Regions from separate parts of the Homo sapiens genome. Here all the other regions are linked to region 2. Evidence: promoter capture Hi-C in human tissues and cell types (Jung and others, 2019). All regions are on one chromosome and are shown on one strand. The core of a region is centred on a gene start or on the middle of the fragment in contact, and the rest is flanking DNA. Distances in the headings are between cores, read along the strand shown.

Region 1 (4,383 bases), core at 543-3,042, 66 kb after region 2:
ATTAGCTAACATTTTGTAATATCTGCCCACTCTCTCCTCCAAGGGATGGAGAAGTAATGCTGAGTTCCAGACTAGGAAAGGTAGTGGTAGCAGAAAGTGATTTACAACTCTGACTTTTTTCACATTTTCTTTCCAGAGCACATAGTAAGTTCTTGTTGGTTCATTCATTCATTGAACAGTGTTTACAAGTTTGAACAAGCTTGAACAACTTGCCATCATTTTGTTCACTTGTATTCATCTTACTCTCACCACTAGAACTGCAAGGTCCATGAGGGCAGAGGCAGTGTCTGTTGCTGGGTGAGTGACTGGATTGAGCTCAAAGCATGTCTGAAGACTGAAATGGGCCAGGCAAGGAGATGGAAACTGGAGGCCTGGATTCTGGCTCGGTCATACCTCCAAGAACGTAACTTTCCCTCGACCCTGGGGAGTCTTCACAGACCTTCCTTCTGCTGTGAGGCACTGGAGAATCACTTGAGACCAGACTCAGGAAACTCTTCCCTGATGGGAAGACATTCATTCATCCACTCCACATCTCTGAAGCCCCAAGAGAAGGATCTGAATCCCCTAGTCTGAAGAGTCAGCAAGTGTCCAACATAGCAATCTTGATAAAAAGGGAGAATTGATAAAGGAGGGAGCAGCCCCACCTCAGTAACAAGAGGGAGGAAAATTCCAGCTAGTACATGTACTTAACATGAAAGCAGACATGTGCCAAGACCCTGCTTTCATGGATATTAGGTGTTCCCAAATATAAGAAACACCCATTCTTGCCCACAGGCCTCACTGGATACTATCCAAGATGTCTAGAGAATAAGAGGAAAGAGAGAATCATAATATCCAAAAGGTGGAAACAACCCAAATGTTCACCAATAGGTGAACGGATAAACAAAGTGTGATATATCCATACAATGGAATATTAGTCAGCCCTGAAAAGGAATGAAGTACTGATAAATGCTACAACATGGATGAACTTTGAAAACACTATGCTCAATGAAAGAAGCTAGTCACAGAAGGTCTCTTATTATATGATGCCATTCATATGAAAGTCCAGAATAGGGAAATCTACAGAGACTGAAAGTACATTAGTGTTGTTAAGGGCAAGAAGGAATATGGGGGGATAGGGAGGTGATAGCTAAAGGTTACAAGATTTCTTTTTGAGGTGATGAAAATGTTCTAAAATTAACTATGGTGATGGTTCGACATACTTGTGAATATACTAAAACCATTGAATTGTACATTTCAAATGGTGAATTGTATGACACATGAATTATACCTCAAGAAAGTTGCTTTTTAAAAAGACAGCGTAAGGGGTGGGGGGCAGTTGAGATGAAGCAGGAAAACTGTGATCAGAAGCAAAGCTCAGGGGCTGTCTGGCCTGGCTGCCCCAAGTCAAAGCCTGCATTTCATACAGGCAATGTTAGGGTAGCCCCCAAGCCATGATTCGGAAAGATAAATTGACCCCAGATGGAATAGGGCTGGGTCCCTTCTCCCTTGACAGCTCCCTTTCTGTGTTTTTTCTGGCACAAGAAACTCTGTCATCTTGTATAAATAGGAGAAATTTATGGCAGTTTTCCCTCTTCTTCTCCCTGGTGGGCTACTAGGAAAGGTCTAGGGGGAGGAGGGAGCCTGAAATTCCAAAAATATAAATGTGGAAAGACTGGAGGGGGTCGAGGAGTCTCTTTGCCTGCCTTAGCTCTGGCCCCAGCTCTCCTTTCCCTTTGCATGTTTGACCATCTGGGTGATGAGGAGGGTAGAGAACTGGTGCAGCCCGTCCTCTCTGCAAGCCCAAAAGAGATGGGTCCCAAAGCAGATATCCGACAGGAGGGGCACAAGGGAAATCAAGGAAATAGGCTTGGCTGTCCCATGAAATAATTGGAGGAGACACAGACCACTGCCCTCCTTCCTGGATTTGGCTATTTTTGTACTTCCCTGTTTGTTGAGGCAGCCTGATACAGCGGGAAGAGAACTCGTCCTCGATTTAGAAAGATTGACAGAGAAACTAAGTGTGTGACCTTAAGCAAGTCATATCTTGTCTCCGGGCCTCACCTGTAAAAAGAGGGAGGGGACTGAATTTATCAGGGGTTTTCAAATGATTTTAACTCTGGGGTCCTTCCTTCAAATAAAACCGTATGCAGTGACCCAACATGAACATGAGTAGTAGGCTGCTGAGCTTCTTGAAGGTAGGAATGGGAGTCTCAGGGCCCTGTGGTGACTGGCGAGAGGCTTGTCCAAGCACAAGATGATCTCCATGGCTTTTCCAGCCCCGTCCTCAGGAGGGATTTGCCCCCATGGTGAAGAGGCTCAGTTCTGCACACCCAGTGGGCTTGAAATCCAGCTCCACCCCCTCCTGTGTGTCCCTCAGCACATAACTTACCTTCCTTGAACCTGTTTCCTCGTGTGTAAATTGGAATAATAGTAACACATATCTCAGAGGATTGTCACATAGATTACACTAAATAATGTGCATAGAGTCCTTCGCATACTTATCTGGCCCAATAAATATTATTATAGTTATTCCGTGATCTGATGTAATCATTTTTTTATTTTGAGACAGAATCTCATTTTGTAGCCCAGACTGGTGCACAGTGGCATGATGTCAGTTCACTGCAACCTCCGCCTCCTGGGTTCAAGCAATTCTCCTGTCTCAGCCTCCCAAGTAGCTGGGATTACAGGAGTGTGCCACCGTGTCCAGCTAATTTTTGTATTTTTTAGTAGAGATGGGGTTTCACCATGTTGGCCAGACTGGTCTCGAACTCCTGGCCTCAAGTGATCTGCCTGCCTCAGCCCCACACAGTGCTGGGATTACAGGCGCAAGCCATTGCACCTGGCCCGATACAATCTTTTTAATTTGAAATATCTGGTGTGAGAAGGTGAATTAGAAAGGATGACAGCAAAACTGCTATAACACAAAGGCCCCAAAACACAGTAGCATATAGAAAACAGAAGTTTATTTCTCACTTAGTCTGGGAGGAAGCGGTTCCAGACAGCAGGCAGCTCTGTTCCTCCTAGTCAGTCAGGGACGTGTGTTCCTTTCATACCTTTGCTTTGTCTTCCCTTAGGGATGTCTTTTCAGTTGCCTGGTCAAACCTGTCTCAGGCACATCTGCCCAGCTCATGAAAGAGAGAACACAAAGGAGAATTTACCCAATGTCATCAGGCTTTGAGGACATGCTTGCCTCACATTCCCCTGTGTCTACACCTGGCAACAAGAGCAGCTGGGAAATGGAGTGTCCAGCTGGGTGTCTCTCTACCCTCGTGCAGCAAGGAAAGAAGAGATTTTAGTGGACAACGGGCAGTCTTAATCCAGGGCTCAAACCCACACCCGAGCTGTCCTCTTCCTCTTCTCTTCCCAAAGGAAGGGAAATAAAGTCTACAGCCCAGAAAACAATGTGACCACCCATCCCCTACCCCAATCAGGTCCCTGCCATTCATCCCAAGATCAGCAGTCTTGGGAAAGTGGCTTGGAAGCCTCCCTCCAGAAAGACCACCCTTTTGTCCATCTTCTTCACATGGGTGGATGTGAGAAAAGTTTCTCTCCCCACTGCCTGCCTGCCACTCCCTGTCTCAGTTTCAGCTCACGCTCTAGCCCTTTGTTCCCAGTCACCAAGAGTGACTACAAATGCGGGGGAACAGGAGGACCTGAAACTTCATGGAAATTGAGACTGGGACACAGAAGCCATGCTCAGAGGCAGCCTAGGTGAGGGTTCTGATGCCAGGAAATCCAGCTACTACTGTGTAGCCTAAAGCGGGGATTAAGCTCTCAGAACTTCAATGAACTCTTTTGGAAATAGGGGTAAGAAGCCCACTTGTCAGGGCTGTTGTGAACATCAAATGTGATCATGTATGTACCTAGTACATAGTATGCCTTCAATAAATGGTAAGGCAAACCCAAGGCAAATCGAATTCATGTCCATTACTCTGACCCAGCCTTTGCATAAATTCTTTTTTCTTCTCCTTCCTTGTCAATGCATGGCTCCCTCCCTCTTCTTTACTTCCTATCCTCATTCCCCTACCATCTGAACCCTGATGTGGAATCTCTTTTCTCATGAAATCTTCCATGATTGAAAAATTCCTGCTTGGCCACTTCCCACTCCAATACTCTATCTTCGCCCATCTTCCATCTACCCCATGGTCCTGGCCCAAGTTCACATGTGTCCCATCCCTCCCTTCAAAAAGCATGCAGCAATGGAAGGGCTTTAAGTTTGTCATCAAGCAGATCAGAGTTCAGATGCCAACTCTGCCAAGTTCTAGCTTTAGAACTTTGTCAGATCACTTCCTCTCCTTGAATCTCTGTCTTCCCAACCCTCTGGTGAGGTCAAGTGTGTGTGGGCTGGTACATAAAGGATATTTAATCTCCTCTGCTCTACTCAACCTCCCCCAACTCACA
Region 2 (4,896 bases), core at 1,370-3,869:
GCCTAGAAGGGAGACTGGGAGTGGGGCCGGGAAGGTTTCCTCCCTCTTCATCAACCCTCTCCACATGGCACCAAAGTTTGCTGAGCTTTGGACTTCCCGGTGGAGCCATCTGGGACTACAGTTCAGACTTAGGTACTAGGATTCAGCACTGGTTTCCCTTTGCCCTCTTCCAGCAATTTATAATGAACCCACCCCCACCACCAATGATTAAGACAACCCCACACAACCCAAACCACTATTAACCAAGCAGTAGCCTTCCTCCGCCCCCTCACTCACAGTCTCAACTTCCTCTCCAACCAAACCAGCCTGTCCTCACATGCAGAGAGTTCCGGACAAGAGTGGGCAAGGGTTCTCAGCCAACTCTGAGAATTTGGGAATCTCCATTAGAGGTGTTCAGCCTCTGGGGAACTCCTGTTCCTTCACCTGGCCTGGTTACAGTGGGGATGGGCACTGTCCTCTTGGAGAGAGAGTATTCAGGGACCACCAAGCACCAGCTCCTTGGGAGCTAAGCCCTGGCCCTGCTGAGCCTGGGGTGGGGCTGGGGGCCTAAGCATTGGAGGAGGGAAGGCAACGAGGGCCCAGGCGGGAATCCGCACCCTTTGGGCACGGCTGTGGGTCCAGCTTCCCTCTCATTCCAGCCCTTTGGGGAAGCCCTAATTTGGAAGTGGGGACCCTCTCCAACATCCCAAAGGTGATGAGAAAAGGATTGGAATCTCTTGCCTTCAGTCTCCCTCTCACAAGGGCTTTATTTTTTTTTTCCCTTTCCCCTCCTCATTCCCTTAATTGCAGATGTTCTAATTAAACCCTCAAATAGTTGTTATGCCGTTTTAAAAGGTACTTATTCAAGTGTCAACCAGGCTGGGCTGGGAGGAGGTAGCGTAGGGCGGCGAATTAAAGGTAGATTGACTAATCACGGCGGCGATCATAATAATAAAATCAGAGGGAAAAAAAATCACATTACGACTTTTCGTGGAAAGGAGGGAGCAGGCAGCCAGCGGCCGCCAGCCCTGCGCCGCCGCCGACACAAAGAGTGCGGGCGATTCCGCGAGACTGATTTATGACGTTTTACAGCCCTATAAAAGCTGTAGCGACGAGGCAAGCGCTCCTACCACCGCTGGCAGATTTAGTCTAATAAATAAAACATAAACAGTTAACTTTATGTGTCACTTTTATTGTTATCAAGTAAAATATAGCTGAGCCCTGGCAAGCTATGATTTTAAACTATAATTGTTATCAAGTACAACAAGGGGACCCGGCTCCCTCCCTGGGCTCTCCCCTCCGCTACCCCCCGCAACTCTGAGTTATGGGCGATCAGTTAATTGGAATCGGTGGCATGACAGGACCACCCCTAGCTGGGGGGGGGGGGTGGTGGTTAGGAAAGCAGCTTTTCCTGGCCCCCTCCCTCCTCTACGGCCCTGTCACCCCCCTCCATCAGAGTATTACTGTGAGTGGGTGGCAGAGAGAGAGCAGGGGGTGTGAATGGGCTGGAGACCCCAAAGGCTGGCCGTGCCTCCCCAACTTGGTGAGCTTAGCCTTCCGTTTTTGGAAAGCAGCCTGGAGCTGGCCTTTAGGAATTCGTGTTTACATGTAAACACACGTGTTACATGGATACAGCTCCTAGCCAGAAGCAAGCAGGCTCTACCCACACAGGCCTCCCTCTTAGCTAGGTCTGCCCTCTGTGGGGACAGAGAAAGAACTCTCAGGATCTTGGCTGGGCACCATCACAGGGCACTGACTCCTGGCAGAAAGCTCTCCTCCTTGCCCCAGCTCCTTGGAGATAATTGTCAGAAAATAGCAGGCCGGGCTGAATGGGGAGTGGAAACAGAAGCCAGCAGTAGAAGAGATCCTCTGCTCTGGGGCTGGGGCAGGGAGGGTCAGTGGGTAGCAGGGGAAGGCGAGACTTCTGAACTCTGCTTTTGCCAACCACTTCCTGTCTCTCTTCAGCGGGGGCTCAACCCCCAGACCTCCAGAAATGACGTCAGAATCATTTGCATCCCGCTGCCTCTACCTGCCTGGTCCAGCTGGGACCCTGCCTCGCCGGCCGCATGGCCAGAGGGTTGGGTGAGTGTGTATGGGGAAGAGGGGCTGGACTCTGGTATCCTTGGATGGGGGGCACTCCAGGCTCTCCAGCCTCCTCGGCTCAGCCTGGGCCCCTCCCCATCCAACATCCACTCCAGTCCTCATTCAACTTCCTCTTCCTGCGAAAGAGGGGCGCTGCCCCGTGACCTACACAGACTGAGACACGATCGCCATGAATGGAGACCTCTGGAAAAGCTCAGGAGCCGAGGCCCACGGGGCCCAGCAGAGGCCTGAGGGGAGACCCTGGGCGGGGGCTGAATCACTGCCTCCCGACAGTCCCCCAATGCCCGGGCTTTGGAGGGGAGCCGGGAGCTTCCCATCTCCTTTTGCAGGGGAGGGTTGTCAGTCTGGCGGGATGTGCACTGGGGGCACTCCAACCTCTGCTAGCTAACCCCACATCACCACCCACCCCCGCCTCCCAGCACCACCACCACCACACACACAAAAAAATTGGATACATTTTGAATAAAGCGATTCGGTTCCTTATCCGGGGACTGGGTTGCTCCGTGTGATTGGCCGGAGGAGTCACATGGTGAAAGTAACTTTACAGGGTCGCTAGCTAGTAGGAGGGCTTTATGGAGCAGAAAAACGACAAAGCGAGAAAAATTATTTTCCACTCCAGAAATTAATGATCATGAGCTCGTATTTGATGGACTCTAACTACATCGATCCGAAATTTCCTCCATGCGAAGAATATTCGCAAAATAGCTACATCCCTGAACACAGTCCGGAATATTACGGCCGGACCAGGGAATCGGGATTCCAGCATCACCACCAGGAGCTGTACCCACCACCGCCTCCGCGCCCTAGCTACCCTGAGCGCCAGTATAGCTGCACCAGTCTCCAGGGGCCCGGCAATTCGCGAGGCCACGGGCCGGCCCAGGCGGGCCACCACCACCCCGAGAAATCACAGTCGCTCTGCGAGCCGGCGCCTCTCTCAGGCGCCTCCGCCTCCCCGTCCCCAGCCCCGCCAGCCTGCAGCCAGCCAGCCCCCGACCATCCCTCCAGCGCCGCCAGCAAGCAACCCATAGTCTACCCATGGATGAAAAAAATTCACGTTAGCACGGGTAGGCAACTTTGCTTTTTGCTCCCCCCCTCCCTCCCTTCTTCCCTAGCGCTCCCCACCCTCCTCGGCCCCCTCTGGCCCCCGTCCTCCTTTCTCTCCTTCCCCCTCTCTCTCCAGGAGCGACTCTGGGTTAGCACAATTGAACTGGATTTACGAGCGAGAATGGGTAATTACATCCCCCATAAATTTTATGGCTTAGCTACTCTGGGCAGTCCGAGCCATGTGCTACGATCTGTTATGTATGTGTGAAAACTATGCTCGCTTTCTAAGGGCGCATAAATAATTCAGTGTCGTTACAATGAGGATTCCCCTCTTATTACACTACAAAGTCTTCAGCTTCCTTCAACTTCTTTATAACCCATTTAAGCTTGATGACTTTATTTCCACCACTCCCTCCTCCTGTTTCTCAGAGCTGAGGATGGGGTGAGGGTGGGGGGCGGGGAGCCTGCTGCCTCTGAACCCCACTATTTGCTTTTCCCCTCCCCCCAGTGAACCCCAATTATAACGGAGGGGAACCCAAGCGCTCGAGGACAGCCTATACCCGGCAGCAAGTCCTGGAATTAGAGAAAGAGTTTCATTACAACCGCTACCTGACCCGAAGGAGAAGGATCGAGATCGCCCACTCGCTGTGCCTCTCTGAGAGGCAGATCAAAATCTGGTTCCAAAACCGTCGCATGAAATGGAAGAAGGACCACCGACTCCCCAACACCAAAGTCAGGTCAGCACCCCCGGCCGGCGCTGCGCCCAGCACCCTTTCGGCAGCTACCCCGGGTACTTCTGAAGACCACTCCCAGAGCGCCACGCCGCCGGAGCAGCAACGGGCAGAGGACATTACCAGGTTATAAAACATAACTCACACCCCTGCCCCCACCCCATGCCCCCACCCTCCCCTCACACACAAATTGACTCTTATTTATAGAATTTAATATATATATATATATATATATATATAGGTTCTTTTCTCTCTTCCTCTCACCTTGTCCCTTGTCAGTTCCAAACAGACAAAACAGATAAACAAACAAGCCCCCTGCCCTCCTCTCCCTCCCACTGTTAAGGACCCTTTTAAGCATGTGATGTTGTCTTAGCATGGTACCTGCTGGGTGTTTTTTTTTAAAAGGCCATTTTGGGGGGTTATTTATTTTTTAAGAAAAAAAGCTGCAAAAATTATATATTGCAAGGTGTGATGGTCTGGCTTGGGTGAATTTCAGGGGAAATGAGGAAAAGAAAAAAGGAAAGAAATTTTAAAGCCAATTCTCATCCTTCTCCTCCTCCTCCTTCCCCCCCTCTTTCCTTAGGCCTTTTGCATTGAAAATGCACCAGGGGAGGTTAGTGAGGGGGAAGTCATTTTAAGGAGAACAAAGCTATGAAGTTCTTTTGTATTATTGTTGGGGGGGGGTGTGGGAGGAGAGGGGGCGAAGACAGCAGACAAAGCTAAATGCATCTGGAGAGCCTCTCAGAGCTGTTCAGTTTGAGGAGCCAAAAGAAAATCAAAATGAACTTTCAGTTCAGAGAGGCAGTCTATAGGTAGAATCTCTCCCCACCCCTATCGTGGTTATTGTGTTTTTGGACTGAATTTACTTGATTATTGTAAAACTTGCAATAAAGAATTTTAGTGTCGATGTGAAATGCCCCGTGATCAATAATAAACCAGTGGATGTGAATTAGTTTTACGTCAATGTCTGATGGTTTCTTTTTATTCCCCTCCCTCTCTGGCCTGGTAACATCCCATCTTCTCTATAGTTGCCTAAGTT
Region 3 (4,861 bases), core at 1,784-4,283, 90 kb after region 2:
TCTGGCTCCTGCCCTCCTCCTGCTATAGCTGCTCCTCCTCCCCCCTTGGAAGAATGCACCCTCCCCTCAGCTTTCCCTCCACAGAGGCCAGAGCAGGAGGGAGGCTGCATATGGCCCCGTTTTCCTTGGCCTGGGTAGGCTATTTTGGAAGCGAGAACCCTCCTTGCCCTTTCCTCCCCTCTGGGAAGCACCGTCCCTCCCCTCTCCACATTCCCCAGAAGTTCTCAGACTGAGATCCGCCCTACGTGCAGTTATGTGGTGAAATCACTGCTTTCCTCCCCGCCGGAGGCGCCAAAGCTTGGAAGGGAGGGTACTCAAACCTTTGATGTAGGCACGTTTCAGAAGGCCCACCTGTCCCCTCTCTCCCCAGCCCCCAGCCTGAAAGGCTGGAGCCCCTCATCACAGCTTTCCTGCCTGGATTAGCTGGGGGTAAGATCAGGTCACACACACTCTATCCCGCTGGGGGCAATCAGGCCCAACCACACTCGGGGACATCTGTCTCCAGCAAATAGGGGGCAATCCCAAATTTGAGGGGTTCTGTGACACTTAAAAGCTTCAAGCAGGAAGTTCTGCAATTTCTCTTGGACCAGGGCCTGCGGGGAGGGTCGCTCAGAAACCCTCGTTTGATGTTGCGCTTTCATGGCTGTGGTTTGATCCAGATGTTCCCCAATTGTGGGATTTTATTTTTGGGAGGGAGGGGCCCTTGGCTATAAAGGCATTTCCATCATGTGCACATTTGGATCTGGGCCTGCTGGGCGGGGGTGCTCTTCCAGCTCTCACTAACCCCACCCTTCCCCCTAGGATCATATCCTTTCCCTTCACATCCAGAGAAGAGAAGAGGATCCATAAGGGGGCATTCCCAGCTCCTTGATGGTTTGCTGTGTGACTGTCCAAAAATGTCTCTACATCTCTGTTTTTCTGGCACCATAAGCTGAAGTTGGTTCCTAAAGATGGTTCCCAGGTCATGGGAGGAATAGGACAGGGAATTCCAGAACCAAATTTCTGTCTAAGAAAGAAACAATTATCTAAGAAATTGTGAGTGGAATTGGACTGAACGTGGATGAGTCAGGGCTCTTGAAAAAGAAAGTGGCCGTCCCTCTTTGAGTCAGTTCTGCAAGAGTGGACAGAAACTTTTCCAGACTCCCAGGCCTCTCTGCTCCCTCAGAGCTTGAAAAGATTAAAGTCATTCCTCCTCAAGGTCTTCAGTGAAACCCTGGAAATCTTTCCTTCAATTTTAAGAGATTACAGTTCTTCCCATTGTCTAGCCTCTGTCACTACTTGCTGTAGCATGAGGTGGCTTCCCTGGGGGAAAGTGTACCAGTCCCGCTCATTGGTCGTCTAAGACCTCCCAGCATTCCTCAAGACATTTCTGCCTCATGATGTCAGAAGAAGGGCTGTCAAATAGATTTTAAAACCCCAGGCTCGGCCAGGCACAGTGGCTCACGCTTGTAATCCCAGCACTTTGCGGGAATCACGAGAGCAGAAGATCGAGACCATCCTGGCTAACACGATGAAACCCCATCTCTAATAAAAATACAAAAAATTAACTGGGCATCCTGGCAGACGCCTGTAGTCCCAGCTACTCGGGAGGCTGTGGCAGGAGAATGGCGTGAACCCGGGGAGGCAGAGCTTGCGGTGAGCAGAGATCACACAACTGCACTCCAGCCTGGGCAACAGAGCGAGACTCCATCTCAAAAAAAAAAAAAAAAGACTTGGCTCCTCACTTGTATTGTGGGAATCCCAGCCTAAATTGGACATGTGGATGTTGAGCAATAGAGGACAGACAAACAAAGGAATCTCCAGACCCTGCAGGACCCAAGGCAGCAGCCCACGAGTGGATCCTAAAGGATTTTCATCAGCTGCAAGTCTGGGTAAGTGGGCTTTTTTTGGGGGGAGGGGAGAAGCAGCCTGGGATGCTTCTTGCAGGAAGAGGAGTTTCAGAGGAGACAAGAGAGGTTAGGAGCCACTGAGTGGGTGAGGAGGGCCTAGCCCAAGAGGCTGGGGACAACCACGAGAGGCGGGCCAATGGGAGAAGAGGGCACTGTTCCTCAGCGGACTAGGTAGAAGGAGGGGTTGGAGAGAGGTGGGTGCAAGGAAGGAAGAAGGAGGATGGGGAGCTCCCCGTGGCTGCCCCACCTGAAGAATTTGAGCAGCTGTTCCCAGCTCCCCCTTGCTCTGTGTAACATCAAGCAAATGCACGGTGGGGGATCAGCTTTTCCTCTGAAGACCTCAGGGCCAGTTCTCAGGCCTCCCCCTCCCTATGGACTTTAATCCAGTCCAGCACAGATGGATCAGGTCATGATGGTGATGGGGGTGGTAGCATTGGGTCTCCCTGGCTTGAATTTTTTCTTATTCCCCCATGTCCTCTCCTCCTTAGGTGATAATTTATCCTTTCGCATGGTCTTACATACTTCACATGTCTATAGCTCAGAGAACTAAGAAGCACCTCATCATTCTTAAGTTGGGCCTTGCTACCTGCAGGCCCCTCCCCTCCCACACTTACCTTCACACGACTGGGGCAAGTGGTTAGCTTCCCCACGGCCCCCCCAGCCCCTCTCCTCTCCAAGACACCCTTCTTATCTTTCTGACTACAATTAGAGCCTCCTCTCCCTGTAGGGGAGTGAGAGGGACAAGGTCAAGGATCCTCACAACTCAATAACAGCTGTAGAGCCTCACCTATCCTGTGTACTCACAGTGACTCCATGCAGGGGACCAGCAACAAGGGGAAAGGGAGTGGGAGTTAGTGTGGGGACAGGGGAGAAGCATGCATCGGGATTCCCTGCCTGGTCTAGTCTGGTCTGGGAGCAGGGCAGATGCTCAACAAGGCATCCCAGGTCTCGGGGAGCGGCTGGCAGTGGTGAAACACCAGCTCTCTCAGGGCACGTGAAAGTTCATGTTTCCCCTCCCTCTCCTCTCTCCCTCCCACTCTTCATGACTGGATCCAGGGAAGGACACACCTGTCACAAGTACTGCCCTCATCTCTCCCTGTAACTCCACCTCCACCCCCCATACCCACTTTATCCCTCTGCAGGGTTACTAGAGCCTGACCAAAATTCTCTACTGACCAGAGACAGACAGACAGACCTGTTCCCTGTTCCCCAACTTCCAGTGGTGCTGCGCATGGAGACGCTGAGGTGGGACCCAAAGACCTGCTCCCGTCTTCTCTCCTTAGGGACTTGCAGAAGCCCCTTTCTCAGAGTCACCCCTCCCAGGATGAGGTGAAGAGGCTGAAAAGGGAAGGGCCATAATGCTAAGGCTGGGGCAGGGGACAGCGGCGCCCTCCATGCACTCTCCTGATTAGTGCAGGTAAACATAAGGGTTTCCCCCAAATGCGAGGGTTCTGCTTCAGTGCCATGGAAGGCCCCACCAGCACCTGCTGCCCCTCCTGTTCGTCCTCCCTCTCTTCAGCCCCACAATTACCGAGAGCGAGTTGTTGAGGCAAGCTCTACCCCAGGCCTGCGTTAAGAAATTTGGGTGGGATAGGCCGGGCGTGGTGGCTCACGCCTGTAATCCCAGCACTTTGGGAGGCCGAGGAGGGTGGATCACGAGGTCAGGAGATCGAGACCATCCTGGCTAACATGGTGAAACCCCATCTTTACCAAAAATACAAAAAATAAGCCGGGCGTTGTGGTGAGCGCCTGTAGTCCCAGCTACTCGGGAGGCTGAGGCAGGAGAATGGAGTGAACCCTGGAGGTGGAGGTTGCAGTGAATCGAGATCGCACCACTGCACTCCAGCCTGGGCGACAGATCGAGACTCTGTCTCAAAAAAAAAAAAAAAAAAAAAGAAATTTGAGTGGGAGAATAGAGGTAAGAGACATTTCCTTAGTGTTTACTGCAAACCCTGCCAGGCTAGAGGTGCCATAATCTGCCCTGTATCAGATCCACAGAGTCATCCCACCAAAACCCCCCCCAGGATGTATGTGAGACCACTGGACTCATTGGCACTGGCAAATAAGAAGATGGCCAGAAAGCAATCAACACCGAACGCCCACTGCGTGCTTGGCACTGGGCCAGACTCTGCTGGGGGAGACTGGAGGAAAGGCCCATTTCACTGGTCTTGAGCTCTACATACCATGTTAAGCCAGAGAGGTACATATTACAAATACTGGAGACTCTCATGCTTGAGTATAATCCTATAATCTTATACCCACTCCCATTCAGACGTGTGGTCATATGTGAATGTCAAGCACACAAGCTAGACAGAAGAAAGAACTTCCCTAGGTTGTCAGTACTGTAGAGTAAAATCATCAGACTCGAAGCCCTCATTCTCGGAAGGTGATGAACTGGGAGAGCCCCCGCCTTGCTGGGCCAGGGGTAAAATAAGGCTCCTGTCTGAAGGCAGGGGGATGGTTGAGATGACCCCTCAAGATGCTACCCAGGAAAAGGCAGAGAGGTAAAGTTTCCAGTAGAGGGGCATGAGAAGGAGGGACAGACAGATGGATGGAGGGATGGAGGAGTGCAGGGAGCAGTGCTGGAGAGATGAATGGTCTTGGCTGGACTGATGGGCGAGGCCAAGATGGATGGATGGCAGCTGAGGTTTGTTTACTGGCAGCCCCCAGCCCGCCATCGCCCAGGGGAGAGGAATGGTGGCTGGCACATCAGAGGGCTCTTAGGGAAGCTCATGGAGATGATTTAGATGGGAATGAATCAGCTCCATATGGATTAAGTGTCCCCGCAAATCCCAGATCTTACAGATGAGGGGATGGGGCAAGGGCACTGAGGGGAGGGGAGAGAGTGGGGAAGCAGCGTGGAGCTGGTGCAGGGAAACACGGTCCTGAAGCCAGGGGAAGGGCACCCTCAGAGGGCATGGGGCAGGTCAGCCTGGCACAGATGCAACCCCTGCCTTGGTCTGTTGATACCA

What was found. Contacts are between HindIII fragments. The study calls those that stand out against the background at their distance.
Region 1: a contact is called between a fragment that was not itself captured here and the fragment with the promoter of HOXC4 in region 2, in 3 of the 25 tissues and cell types used here (H1 embryonic stem cells, bladder and neural progenitor cells).
Region 3: a fragment that was not itself captured here is called in contact with the fragment with the promoter of HOXC4 in region 2 in 3 of the 25 tissues and cell types used here (H1 embryonic stem cells, aorta and liver).

The regions. Positions count from the first base shown.
Region 1 is chr12:54,118,349-54,122,731 of GRCh38, forward strand. FLJ12825 (a long non-coding RNA gene) reads left to right here. Exons shown (of 2, transcript NR_026655.1): 2 at 256-3,886. FAM242C (family with sequence similarity 242 member C) reads right to left here. Exons shown (of 3, transcript NR_170197.1): 3 at 2,929-3,099. Among named protein-coding and RNA genes, the nearest start is that of LINC02381, 5.5 kb to the right of the region's middle. The HindIII fragment of the contact is 9,358 bases long and covers 1-4,383 here.
Region 2 is chr12:54,051,216-54,056,111 of GRCh38, forward strand. It overlaps HOXC4 (homeobox C4), which reads left to right and starts at 2,620. Exons shown (of 2, transcript NM_153633.3): 1 at 2,620-3,146; 2 at 3,635-4,815. The coding sequence starts at 2,708. The coding sequence ends at 3,990. RefSeq lists enhancers at 416-1,397, 1,398-2,379, 1,675-1,834 and a cis regulatory region at 2,411-2,911. The HindIII fragment of the contact is 12,403 bases long and covers 1-4,896 here.
Region 3 is chr12:54,140,951-54,145,811 of GRCh38, forward strand. SMUG1-AS1 (SMUG1 antisense RNA 1) reads left to right here and starts at 1,652. Exons shown (of 2, transcript XR_007063322.1): 1 at 1,652-1,871. The HindIII fragment of the contact is 5,217 bases long and covers 426-4,861 here.